2 separate regions of the Homo sapiens genome follow, and region 1 is linked to region 2. The links are contacts of gene promoters, found by promoter capture Hi-C in blood cells and fetal thymus (Javierre and others, 2016). All regions are on one chromosome and are shown on one strand. The core of a region is centred on a gene start or on the middle of the fragment in contact, and the rest is flanking DNA. Distances in the headings are between cores, read along the strand shown.

Evidence for each region. The method cuts DNA at HindIII sites, captures the fragments that hold promoters and counts their contacts. A CHiCAGO score of 5 or more calls a contact.
Region 1: a contact is called between a fragment that was not itself captured here and the fragment with the promoter of CC2D1B in region 2, in 1 of 17 cell types (naive CD4 T cells). The highest score is 6.4, in naive CD4 T cells.

What each region holds. Positions count from the first base shown.
Region 1 is chr1:52,920,447-52,926,732 of GRCh38, forward strand. It overlaps ECHDC2 (enoyl-CoA hydratase domain containing 2), which reads right to left and starts at 1,294. Exons shown (of 10, transcript NM_001198961.2): 1 at 1,107-1,294. The coding sequence starts at 1,227. It also overlaps the pseudogene LOC112268226 and the pseudogene LOC100652967. RefSeq lists an enhancer at 997-1,679 and silencers at 1,014-1,192, 1,041-1,270. The HindIII fragment of the contact is 2,507 bases long and covers 2,321-4,827 here.
Region 2 is chr1:52,364,805-52,371,340 of GRCh38, forward strand. It overlaps CC2D1B (coiled-coil and C2 domain containing 1B), which reads right to left and starts at 1,401. Exons shown (of 25, transcript NM_001330585.2): 1 at 1,265-1,401. It also overlaps the pseudogene PLA2G12AP1. RefSeq lists silencers at 1,001-1,110, 1,151-1,780, 3,763-3,862, 3,923-4,002 and an enhancer at 3,593-3,642. The HindIII fragment of the contact is 5,331 bases long and covers 1-1,997 here.

The DNA of each region.
Region 1 (6,286 bases), core at 2,324-4,823, 560 kb after region 2:
AAGAATGCAGGCCAAGGAGATGGACGAGGAAGATAAGGCTTTCAAGCAGAAACAAAAAGAGGAGCAGAAGAAACTCGAGGAGCTAAAATGGAAGGCCACGGGGAAGGGGCCCTTGGCCACAAGTGGAATTAAGAAATCTGGCAAAAAGTAAGCTGTTCCCTGTGCCTAAGGAGATGGTGACCCTTTATTTCATCAGTATTTAAACCTCTCTATTCCCTGCCATAACATCTTTTGCCACCTATGGCTGGAATTAAGTGTTGTCTTGGAGCTGTTGTACATTTAAGAATAAACTTTTGTTAAAAAAAAAAAAGAAGCAATACAACGAAATGTACAGTACAATGCCATCTGTGTATCAAATGCAGGAGACAGGGGATGAGATGCGGGGAGGAGACCCAAGGCAGGAGAAGCGCCTAGCCCTGATGGTTACCAGCAGAGGACTGAGGAGCGTTATCAGCACCACTGAATGCTCCAGAAGTTCAAACAACAACAACAACAAAAACGCAACACGCGATCAGAGGCGTTTTCTGCCAGTGACCCGCGAACTTTGCCCCCCACCCCTCGTCCCCGCTCCATACTATCCTTGATCTTGGCCAAAAGGCGGAGAAACAGCGAACTTTTCCCTGGAGCCAGAAGGACGCAAAGGTTCGCTAGCGGCCCAGGGCGGGCGCGCGGCTGGAGAGGCACCCTCCTCACTCTGCCCGCTGCCGCACTGGGCACTGGGACTGGCTCCGCTGCCTCCGCCCCCGAACCGGGCCAGGACCCTTGGCGGGGGAGGGGAACGCGCACTTAAACGCTCCTGGCCTGGGGGCCGCGGGGCCCAGTCCTACCCGTGCGGACCCCGCTCCCCCTTCCACACAGTCGGAAGACCCCAAAGGGCCTTTGAAGAGACCGAGGTTGCCAGAGGCCCCCCGCCCCCAGCTAGAGTCTGGAGCCACTAAGGCGGCCGCCCACCTCTCAGGCCTGGAGCGGTTTGGGGCGCCTAGAACTGGGAGGGAGGGACTGGGGATCGAATCCTTCAACGCACTGAGCGGCCCACCTGCCGGTCCCCCGCTGCCTCCGGCCTAGTCCCAGTCGCGTCATGCGCCGCCCCGGAACTGCACATTTACCTTGGTCCGGACCCGCCAGGGCGCGCACTTGGATCTCTGAGCCCCCGGCCGCCCCGTCGGAAGCGCAGCCGCGGGCCCGAAGGGGCCTCCAGGGGCGCAGGAGGCACAGAACGCGCAGCATCGGGGCGCAGGCTGGGAGTGAAGGTGCTTCTCCGGCCCTGCACCGTCTCGGCTCCCGCTGAGAGCTCGCAGTTCCGGCGTCGGGCGAAGCCTTCGCCAATTGCTCCACCTATGGGCCAAGCGTCTGTTGCCTCCTTCCGCACCTCCCGGGGACAGGGAGACTTGAGCGGAGGAGGTCGGGGGAAGCCCAGCTCCTCTGTGTGATTTGGTGTAACTCTGTCAACCTCCCAGCGTCAGTGTTTTAATCCTGTAAAATGGGGATAATAGTGACTACCCCGTGGTGGTGTGAAGATTAAATGGGGTGTGTGAACCTTGCTTGCACATATGCTCAATTTCATTTTTTAAATGAAATGACATTTAATGAGTCCCTTGAGCGTGTCTACACTTGCGAACCTCACTGCTTCACCTCCCATTTGCGCCTCACTTTTTTTTTTTTTTTTTTTTTTTGAGACGGAGTCTCGCTGTGTCGCCCAGGTTGGAGTGCTGTGCCTTGATCTTGGCTCACTGTAACCTCCGCCTCCGGGTTCAAGCGATTCTCCTGCCTCAACCTCCCAAGTAGCTGGGATTACAGGGACGCGCCACCACGCCCAACTAATTTTTTTTGTATTTTTAGTAGAGGCAGGGTTTCACCATGACGAAACCCTGTCTCTGTTAAACATTCAAAAAAATTAGCTGGGCGTGGTGGCGGGCGCCTGTAATCCCAGCTACTTGGGAGGCTGAGGCAGGAGAATCACTTGAACTCGGAAGGCACAGGTTCAGTGAGCTGAGATCGCGCCACTGCACTCCAGGCTGGGCAATGAGCGAAACTGCGTCCCAAAAAAAAAAATTATTCTCTTAAACACAGTATATACAAAGCACTCTCACATTGCTGATGTGAATGTCTTTAAATGAAAAGCAACTGGTAATTTATATCAAAATTATAAATGCACAAGCTCATTGCCCCAGAAATTCCAATTTTAGAAATTTAACCTACAGATAAATCCACACAGCTGTGAAATGACACGTGTTCATGGCTGTACATTGCAGCATTGTTTATAATAGCAAAAGACTGGAAGCACATGGTGCTGTCATGTGCTTCTGGTGAGGCCTCAGGAAGCTTACAATCATGGCTGAAGGTGACAGGGATCCAGCATGTCACATGGCGAGAATAGGAACAAGAAAATTAGGTGGGGAGGTCCCAGTTTATCGCCAAGGGGATGGTGCTAAACCATTCACAAGGGATCTGTCCCCATGATCCAGTCACCTCCCAACAGGGCCCACCTCCAACATTGGGAATCATATTTCAACGTGAGATTTGGAGGGATCCAACACCCAAACTATATCACAGTCTCAATATCCATCAATAGAGGGTTGGTTAAATAAATTATGGGGCTGTGTGTGGTGGCTCACCCTATTATTCCAACACTTTGGAAGGCCAAGGCAGGTAGGTCCCTGGAAGCCAGGAGTTTGAAACCAGCCTGGGAAATATAGCAAGCCCCTATCTCTACTTAAAAAAAAAAAAAAGGTACATCAATAATCTGAATACTATGCAGCTATAACAAAACACAGGAAACTGTTTATGCATTGATATGAAACAATCTTCAAAATCTATTGGTATATGAAACAAGTCAAAATGCAGAATAGTGTGTAAAGAAAGCTAAAATTTGGCCGGGTCTGGTGGCTCATGCTCATGAACCTAGCACTTTGGGAGGCCGAGACAGGAGGATTGCTTGAGGCCAGGAGTTCAAGACCAACCTAGCCAACATAGCAAAACCCCACCTCTATTGAAAGAAATAATAAAGAAAACAAAAATTTGTGTTAACAAGGGGGATAAGAGTATGCATGTGTATATTTGATTGTATTTACATAAAACATCTTTGGAAGGATAGGGAAGAAGAACCGAGAGGCTGGGAATAAGGGTAAGAGAGACAAGTTTTACGGTTTGACCTGTTATACGTTTTTGGACACAGGATGTTGTTGTTGCCCAGATTGGAGTGCAGTGGCAGTATCTTGGCTCACTGCAGCTTCTGCCTCCCGGGCTCAGGTGATCCTTCCACCTCACCCTCCTGAGTAGCTGGGACCACAGGTACATGCCACAACATTGGCTAATTTTTGTATTTCTTGTAGAGACGGGGTTTTGCCATGTTGCCAAGGTTGGTCTCGAACTCCTGAGCTCAGGCGATTTGTCCACCTTGGCCTTCCAAAGTGCTGGGATTACAGGTGTGAACCACCATGCCTGGCCCCTTTTATACTTTTTGAATCTTGATTTTTGTTTTAAGTATAACTTACTCAAAATAAATAATGAAAATGAAAACAAAGCACAATAACAAAAATTAAAAACATGCCTTAGCAAAAATAAAACTAATATATACACAAAATCAAAACATACAAACTAGCCAGGCCCGGTGGCTCATGCCTGTAATCCCAGCACTTTAGGAGGCTGAGGTGGGTGGGTCACCTGAGGTCAGGAGTTCAAGACCAGCCTGGCCAACATGGTGAAACCCTGTCTCTACTAAAAATACAAAAATTAGCCAGGCGTGGTTGTGGGCAGCTGTAATCCCAGCTACTCAGGAGGCTGAGGTGCAAGAATCGCTTGAACCCAGGAGGTGGAGGTTGTAGTGAGCTGAGATCACACCACTGCACTCCAACCTGGGCAACAGAGTGAGATTCTGTCTTAAAAAAAAAAAAGAAGCAAAAACAAAACATACAAACTATAATTGGGTATAAGATTAAAAGAAAAACCTTCCCTCCTCCATATTCCATGCATTTATTGTATTCTATTTTATTGAGACAGGGTCTCACTCTGTTGCCCACATTGGAGTACAGTGGTGCAGTCAGTTCACTACAACCTCAGACTCCTGGGCTCAGGGGATCCTCCCGTCTCAGCCTTCCGAGTAGCTGGGACTACAGGAGTGGGCCACCACACTTGGCTCATTGTTAAATTTTTTGTAGAGACAGAGGTCTCCCTATGTTGCCAGGCTGGTCTCAAACACCTGGCCTCAAGTGATCCTCCCACCTCAGCCTCCCAAAGTGCTGGGATTACAGGTGTGAGCCCCCATGCCTGGCATCCACCCATTTAAAAAGATTTTTCTTGTTTTTTCTTCTTTTTTTTTAGAGATAGGGAGCTATGTTGCCCAGGTTGGTCTTGAATTCTTGGGCTCAATCAATCCTCCCATTTTGGCCTCCCAAAGTGCTGGGATTACAGGCATGAGCCACTGTGCCTCGCTGCTTTTTGTCTTTTTGTATTAACAGAAAAGGTCTCACTATGCTGTCCAGGCTGGAGTGCAGTGGCTATTCACAGGCATAATCGTAGCTCACTGCAGCCTTGAACTCCTGGACTCAAGCAGCCTTTCTGCCTCAGCTCCTCAAGTAGATGGGATTACAGTCTCGTACCACCACACCCAGCTTAAAATGATATTTATTGTATTTTATCTGGCATTTCTGGGTGTTTTTTTTTGGTATACTTATTCATGCCACAAAGTAAGTGGTACTTATATAAGTGTACAGTGATTTTCCAGGTTCCTTTCTAACATAGCTTGCTTAAATTCACAGGTCGACTAATGTTTCATTTCATGTGCATGCTAAGTGAAGCTGGTTAGTGATGACCATAAGCAGGTGGAGAAGCTTTCAATATTTTACTTATTTTATCAGTACTCCTGATTTTATAAATGATGAGGCTCATTAACCCCATTCCTACTCAAATCTCCTGATAAACTTGGTTATAATAGGGCTTCATGGGGATCCAAACATTTTTAATAATGTTTTGAAGCATCTTGGTGTGGGACAAACAGCTCAGGCTACCCCAGAGCCCCACATCCAATGACTTAGAAAAGTCTGTGTTTTATAGTGGGAAAAGTTTGGATTATTTAGTCCTTCACATTGGAAAGGGAAGTGTTTTTTCTCAGTCTTTTCGGTATTAACAAATACCTTTTATATTACTATCTATCCCCTCTGCCCTCTATGGACTCTTATTTTGAAAGCAATATCCAGTGGACAGCCAGGATTTGTTACATAACAATTAATCTTGACCTTAGGACTTGTTGTTCTATTAGGTTGGTAACTTTGTCTGATCCACCAATCATATTGCTGTCTTGTCAGTCCATCAGTTTCAAGAAACAACTGTACATGTCAGTGCCCTGATTTGTGTTTGTTTTTCTTTTTTTTTTTTTTTTGTTTCGTTTTGGTTTTTTAGAGACGTGGTCTTGGTATGTTGCCCAGGCTGGAGTGCAGTGGCTATTCAGAGGTGTAATCATAGCACATTTGTAGCCTTGAATTCCCAGGCTCAAGTGATCTTTCTGCCGAAGCCTCCTGAGCAGATGGGAGGCGTGCATCACTGAGCGCAGCAATTTTACTAAGTTGGTCTAGTCCTAGCTCAGTAGTTCTTTACTTAGCACAGAGGGGGCTTCTTAGAATCTCCTAAACTTGATCTTAGCCAAATGGCCAAGAAGCAATCCTTAGAATCTTCTAGGAGAGCCTTTCTAAATGCTGATACTGCAAACCGAAAAGTATATGAAACGGATCTCAATTAATTTAGAAGTTAATTTTGCCAAGTTTAAGGACGTGCATCATCTTTGGAGACAGGTCCGTGCCTTTCTCCAAAGATGATTTTGAGGGCTTCAGTTTTTATAGGGGAAGGGGCAGATATTGGGGAAAGATGAATAAATTTTAAAAAGATGTGGGTAGATAAGAGGCAAACGGTTGCATTCTTCTGAGTCTTTGATCAACCTTCACATGTGAGGGGGGTAGAGAAATAGTCACTTATGCATTCATCTAGCTCAATGAATCTGCATTTTTACATAAGATAAAATAAACCGGGGAGCCGGGCGCGGTGGCTCACGCCTGTAATCCCAGCACTTTGGGAGGCCAAGGTGGGTAGATCACCTAAGGTCAGGAGTTCCAGACCAGCCTGGCCAACATGGCGAAACCCCATCTCTACTAAAAATACAAAAATTAGCGGGGCGTGGTGGCGCGCGCCTGTAATCCCAGATACTCGGGAGGCTGAGGCAGGAGGATTGCTTGAACCTGGGAGGCGGAGGCTGCAGTGAGCCGAGTTCGCGGCATTGCACTCCAGCCTGGGCGAC
Region 2 (6,536 bases), core at 151-2,650:
TGGGGATCACCTGTTAATGGGTTTACTGAGGAATGTTCTGAACGGACTCAAATTTAAAAAGCACATTCAGGGAAGTACTCTAGGTTCAGGGTGGGTGGAAGGCTGGGTAGAATTCAGAAAGGCTCTAAAGCTGTGCTTATGGAAGCCACAGCTGGCTATTTAATTTTAAATTTCAATGAATTAAAATGAAATAAAGCTAAAAATCCAGTCCATCAGCCACAACAGACACATTCCAAGTGCTTAACAGCCATATGTGGTGAGGGGCTATGACCAGACAGCACACACACAGAACATTTTCATCATCCAAGGACATGTCATCAAAGTTCCATCTCACAGCTGAGCTCTGGAGAAAGCTGGCTCAGCATTCTGATTCCCATAAAGATCTCACAGTTATTCACAGGACCTCCTGTGTCAGACCTTGCGCTGGGCACTGGGAGCGCAGAAATGAACCTAAGACGGTCTCAGCCTTCAATGACCATTTACAGGGTGGAGGTGGACTACACGGGGTTGCCCCAGGGGCCATGGGTGCCCTGAGGTGACCCCTTCTTCAGCCCTGGGAGAAAAGGCTCCTCCTTCGAGGCGGTGACGCCTGAGCTGAGTCACGCAAAGAAGTTGGGGGAAAGAGGGAAATAGGATTCCAAGACGAGGGAACACTTGACGGCTCTGAAGTGGGGAGCAGCTTGGCCTGTACAATGGAACCTGAGGCCTGGTATGACTGGGGCATAAGCGGTGAGGCCTGAATGCACAAGCCGAGGTGGAAATGTGAGCAAGCGGCAGAATATGAAAACCTCTAAGCCGAAAAGCGTTTGGGCATTATTCTGAGGGCGCTGGGAAAGAAGTGGCGGGATCGTATCGGTGTTTCAGAAACCCCATTCTGGCACCAAAGGGGAGGTGCACAGAAGGTAGGGGGAAAAGGCAGGAAGCCGGCGCATCTCGCCACAGCGCTGGCGGGGAGACCAGCTGACGGGCGTGGAGGCGGCGGGGAGCGGGCGGAGGAGCTGGCGGGCGCTCCGGGGGACTCTGAGTGTCAGATTTCGGGAGTGACTCCGGCTCAGGTGAAAGCGAGGCCAGACACTCCAAGGCTGCGGCCCCGATGACACAGCCAGGCCTCACGGAAGGTGGGCAACGGAGTCCGTAGGGGGAGGCGACACGGGACCCCCACTCCCGCGCTGCGGGACGCGCCGCCCTGCCCCGCCCGCGCCGCCTCCATCTACCCCCGCGGTCCCCAGAACTCCCCACGCCGAGGGGCGGGGACGCGGCATACCTCGCGGTGAATCCGAGCCAAACCCCGGCCTTGTCTCACCCGGCACCGCCCTGGGCTCCCGCGGGCCCTGGGCCGCAGCGGTAGCGACAGGAAGCGCCAGCAGGGGAGGTGGCTCGCGCGCAACACGTGACCCCACTGGCCGGCGGCCGGCAGTGCGCATGTGCACGGCTACGCGGGCGGGGGGCTCCAACAGGTGACACCGGGGCGGGGTTCGCAGCGCGCAGGCGCGTTCGGGTAGGTAGCGCAGGACAGGAACTCTGGGCGGTTCCGCCGGGGCGTCCACCGGCCGGCTCCAATGAGGTCGCTGCGCCCAGCCCTCGCCCACTTGCAGCCTCTCCACCGAACCTCCTCCCTCACTCAGCCCGAGGCGCTGGGCGCTCGCTCGCTCGCTGGACCTACCCCGCCTCCAGCCCTCGCCCCGCCCCACCGAGCAAGAGGGCGGGGCCTACCCAAGCTCCGCCCTGGAAGAGAGACAGGGGCGGGGCTCACCTGCTTGTCCATGTCCTTTAAGCCTGGGGAAATGGAAATGGGGCCCACCATATGTTTCTTAATAATTCAGCACCTGAAAGTATCCTTTTCCGGTCCGTTGAAAACTTCAGACAGGCAGAGCTCGCTGCACATCTTAAATACTTTACAGAGTCTAACACTAAGTTCTCACTCGCCTACCCTGCTGTGCAATCAAATGGCATGGAGGATATTAAGGAGAGAAACGGAGTATACCCGTTTTCTGCCAAGCTTGTGTCAGTCACTTTTCATAATGGAGCTTATACCAGTTCTCAATCCTGCAAGATGGACATCATCTCTAGAAGAAACGGAGGCTCAGAGAGAATTATTTGCCCAGGGAAATACAAAACCAACCTCTTTAGCATCAGTAAATATGCTCTAGTCTAGTTTTCTAAGGAAAGCACGTTTCTCCCTGCGGCTTGCAGAGTCCAGTTAACAAGAGATTGAGCTCAGGAGTCCGAGACCAGCCTGGGCAACATGGCGAAACCCTGTCTCTACAAAAAATTACAAATATTAGCCGGGTGTGGTGGTGCGTGCCTGTAGTCCTACCTACTGAGAGGCCGAGGCAGGAGAATCGCTGTGGCCCCGGAGGTCCAAGCTGCAATGAGCTGTCAACTGCACTCCAACCCGGGTGACAAGGTGAGACCCTGTCTCAAACTAAAACAAACAAAAAAACCGAGAGCGGAGTAATGGGGAAGTGGCCAGATTCCCATCTAAAGTAACCACTTCGATTTTGGGGGGAAAGAGAACGGCTTAAAAGGAAAATTTGATATGGGAAGCATGCAAGAATTGTACAGAGTACAACGTCTGTGTGTCTTGTTCTGGTGGCTATCTTGGGTCCCAGCCTACCTGGAGCGTGGGCTGGTCTCATCTCCACAATGGCCCCGCTGTTGACTAGCCACCTTGAAGTAATCTTTGGAATTTTGCAGCTGTGTCTCCAGGCTTGGTTTGTCTGTCTCAAGATTAGCCCTTGGAACTTCTCAGAAGGCAGATAATTAAATACTAGCATACAGTAAGATAAATGTGAAGGGAGTATATACAGTGAGAAAGGGAGGGATATGGGGTCTATTTTACAGCTAAGGGAAAAGGCTTTTGCAGTTTGCTTCAAGGTTGTATCTTGAAACCCAAGAGAAAGGAAAAAAAGTTTTAAAATGTATTTTAAAGTTAAACTGCTGGATTAGTTTCTTCTGTCTAAAACATTGCCATCTCCTCTCCTGCCTATGCCTTGAACTTTTAAATTATGTTTTCTAGTTAGCGATCTCCCAGTTTACTTGGACAAAGGGCTTTTCCATCTCCTGATTGCTTACTTTTTTTCTTTTTTTTTTTTTTGAGACAGGATCTCATTCTGTCACCCAGGCTAGAGTGCAGTGGTGCGATCTCCACTCACTGCAACCTGCACCTCCCAGGCTCAAGCAATCCTCTCACCTCAGCCTCTTGAGTAGCTGGGACCACAGGCACGTGCCACCATGCCCAGCATTTTTTTTTTTTTTTTTGTAGAAACATGTTTTTGCTATGTGCCCAGGCTGATCTCAAACTCCTGAGCTCAGGGGATCAACCCACATCAGCCTCCCAAAGTGCTGGGATTACAGGCGTGAGCCACCATGCCCTGCCCATTACCATATTTAAATTGAGATTTCACATCCATATTTCTCATTCCTTTTAAAATTATTTAAAAATTTTTATAATGAAACATTTAAGATATAAACAAAGATACACAATATTTAACATTTACTAGAATGCAAGCTCCAGAAGGAGAAATTTTTTTATTGCTTCTCCAAGTGTCTCGTGTCTACAGCAGTGCATGGTACATAGTAGGCACTCAATAGTTCCTTGTTGTGTGAATTAACTACATGGACATCTATTACCAGTTTAAGGGAAAAAAAAAAGCAGGTGAGCGGGCGCGTCCCCGCGACCGCGCTGCCTCCCCGAGGCGGTTCACGTAAAGCCAGCGAGGCCCTGCCTGCCAGCCGGGAAGGAGGCGTGGTTATGGAGCTGGCGGCTGCAACCCCGGGGCCCGCGCCGCTGCCTAGCGCTTCCCGGGGGCTCTTTGGGGACGCGCCCCCCGCCGCGGCTCGGGGACCCGTAGAGCCCGGCGCTGCGCGGTTGGCCCTTCTCCCGCGCCCCGCGCTCACCCTCCTGCTCCTCCTCATGGCCGCTGTTATCAGGTGCCTGGAGCAGGCCTAGACCACCGACTGGAGGGCCACCCTGAAGACCATCCGGAACGGCGTTCATAAGATAGACACGTACCTGAACGCCGCCTTGGACCTCCTGGGAGGCGAGGACGGTCTCTGCCAGTATAAATGCAGTGACGGATCTAAGCCTTTCCCACGTTATGGTTATAAACCCTCCCCACCGAATGGATGTGGCTCTCCACTGTTTGGCGTTCATCTTAACATTGGTATCCCTTCCCTGACAAAGTGTTGCAACTAACACGACAGGTGCTATGAGAACTGTGGCAAAAGCAAGAATGACTGTGATGAGAAATTCCAGTATTGCCTCTCCAAGATCTGCCGAGAAGTACAGAAAACACTAGGACTAACTTAGCATGTTCAGGCATGTGAAACAACAATGGAGCTCTTGTTTGACAGTGTTATACATTTAGGTTGTAAACCATATCTGGACAGCCAACGAGCCACATGCAGGTGTCATTATGAAGAAAAAACCGATATTTAAAGGAGATGCTGACAGCTGGTGACAGATGAAGACGGAAGAACATAACCTTTGACAAATAACTAATGTTTTTACAACATAAAACTATCTGATTTTTGTGAAAAAAGAAAAACAAACATAGTTGGAGCTACCTGTACATCTCCCATATTGCAACACCTCCCTTTCCCAAAGATGTACCCATTATCCTAAATTTAGTGTTTATTATTCCTGAGCATTTCTATTTCTGTGTAGGTATCCTTAAGCAATACATAGTATTTTTTTTGCCAGCTTTTAAAAATTATATCATTGGTTACATACAGTGTAATTCTTCAACCTTTTTCTACTCAACCCTGTTTGTAAGCTTCACTCAAATTGACATGTATACTGTATCTAGTTAGCTGATTTTCATTTCTGTTATGATTCCATAGCATGAAAATAAGTCACTTTCCCAATGGCTTACCATTATAGAGTGCTATGAACTTTTTGTATATGACTCTTGGTGTACGTATGTGAATTTCTCTAGAGCATATACTTAGGAATGGAATTGCTGGCTGCATTAGTCAGGTTTCTCTAGAGGAACAGAACTAATAGGATATATATATATATATATGTGTGTGTGTGTGTGTATATATATATGTGTGTGTGTGTGTATATATATGTGTGTATATATATATATGTGTATATATATATATAGTCCCACAATAGGCTGTCTGCATGCTCTATTAACCATCACACTGGCTGATATGGTTTGGCTCTGTGTTCCCACCCAAATCTCATCTTGAATAGTAATCCCATAATCCCCATGTGTCCTGGGAGGCATCTTGTGGGAGGTAATTGAATCATGGTTTCCTTCATGCTGTTCTTGTGATAGGAGTGAGTTCTCACGAGATCTGATGGTTTTATAAGCATCTGGCATTTCCCCTGCTGGCACTCATTCTCTCTCCTGCTGCCCTGTGAAGAGGTGCCTTTCACCATGATTTTAAGTTTCCTGAGGGCTCCCCAGCCATGTGGAACTGTGAGTCAATTAAACCTCTTTTCTTTATAAATTACGCAGTCTCAGGTATTTCTTCATAGCGCGAGGACAGACTAATACACTGGCTCATACAATTTCTTGCATTTCCTAGGCTAAGATTCACCAAATAATCTTCAAAAGTCATTCCACCTCCATCAGCAGGGTATTGGGGTCCCAGTTGTTCTGTGTAACCATAGAAAGGTTTTCTAATAGATGTGAAATGGTTTTGGTTTGCATGCCTCTTTTACTGTTTCCATTTTCTTGGTCATTCGTGTTTCTTCTTTGGATGACTTATTTGTTATTTACCCATTTTTTTCTTTTTCCTTCTTTTTTTTTTCTGAGACAGTCTTGCTCTGTTGCCCAGGCTGGAATGCAGTGGCACAATCTTGGCTCACTGCAACCTCTGCCTCCTGGGTTCAAGCAATTCTTTTGCCTCAGCACCCCTGTAGCTGAGATTACAGGTGCACACCATCACCCCTGGCTAATTTTTGTATTTTTAGTAGAGATGGGGCTTCACCATGTTGGCCGAGCTGGTCTCGAATTCCTGACCTCAGGTGATCTACCTGCCTTGGCCTCCCAAAATGCTGGGATTACAGGTATGAACCACTGTGCCTGGCTCATTTTTTCTTTTTCATTGCAGTTTTAAAAATATTGATATTGATCCTCAATCCATTATATGTAATTATAAATACATATGTGAATATAGAAATACATATTTTTGCTAAATGATTTGAGAATGAGTTGCAGACATAATACATCACTTATAAATATTTCATTATGAATCTCCTAAGAACAGCATTCTCCTACATAATCACAAATTTATCACGCTCGGGGAATTTAACACTTACAAAATACTTCTGTCTAATACATAGTTAATAATGTTTATAATTGTTTATATTTCCTAAATCCAGGACCCAGTCAAGGTTTATATAGTGCATTTAGCTCTCATGTCTCTATTCTCCTTTGGTGTAGAATAGTTCCTCCATGTTTTGTGTTTTTTTTCTTGTGATATTAGTATTTTCAATGAGTTGAACAGCTGCTTTGCAGAGTTTCTCCCTAAATTTAGATTTGTCTGATAATTTTCTCATCAGTAAATTTAGGACAAGC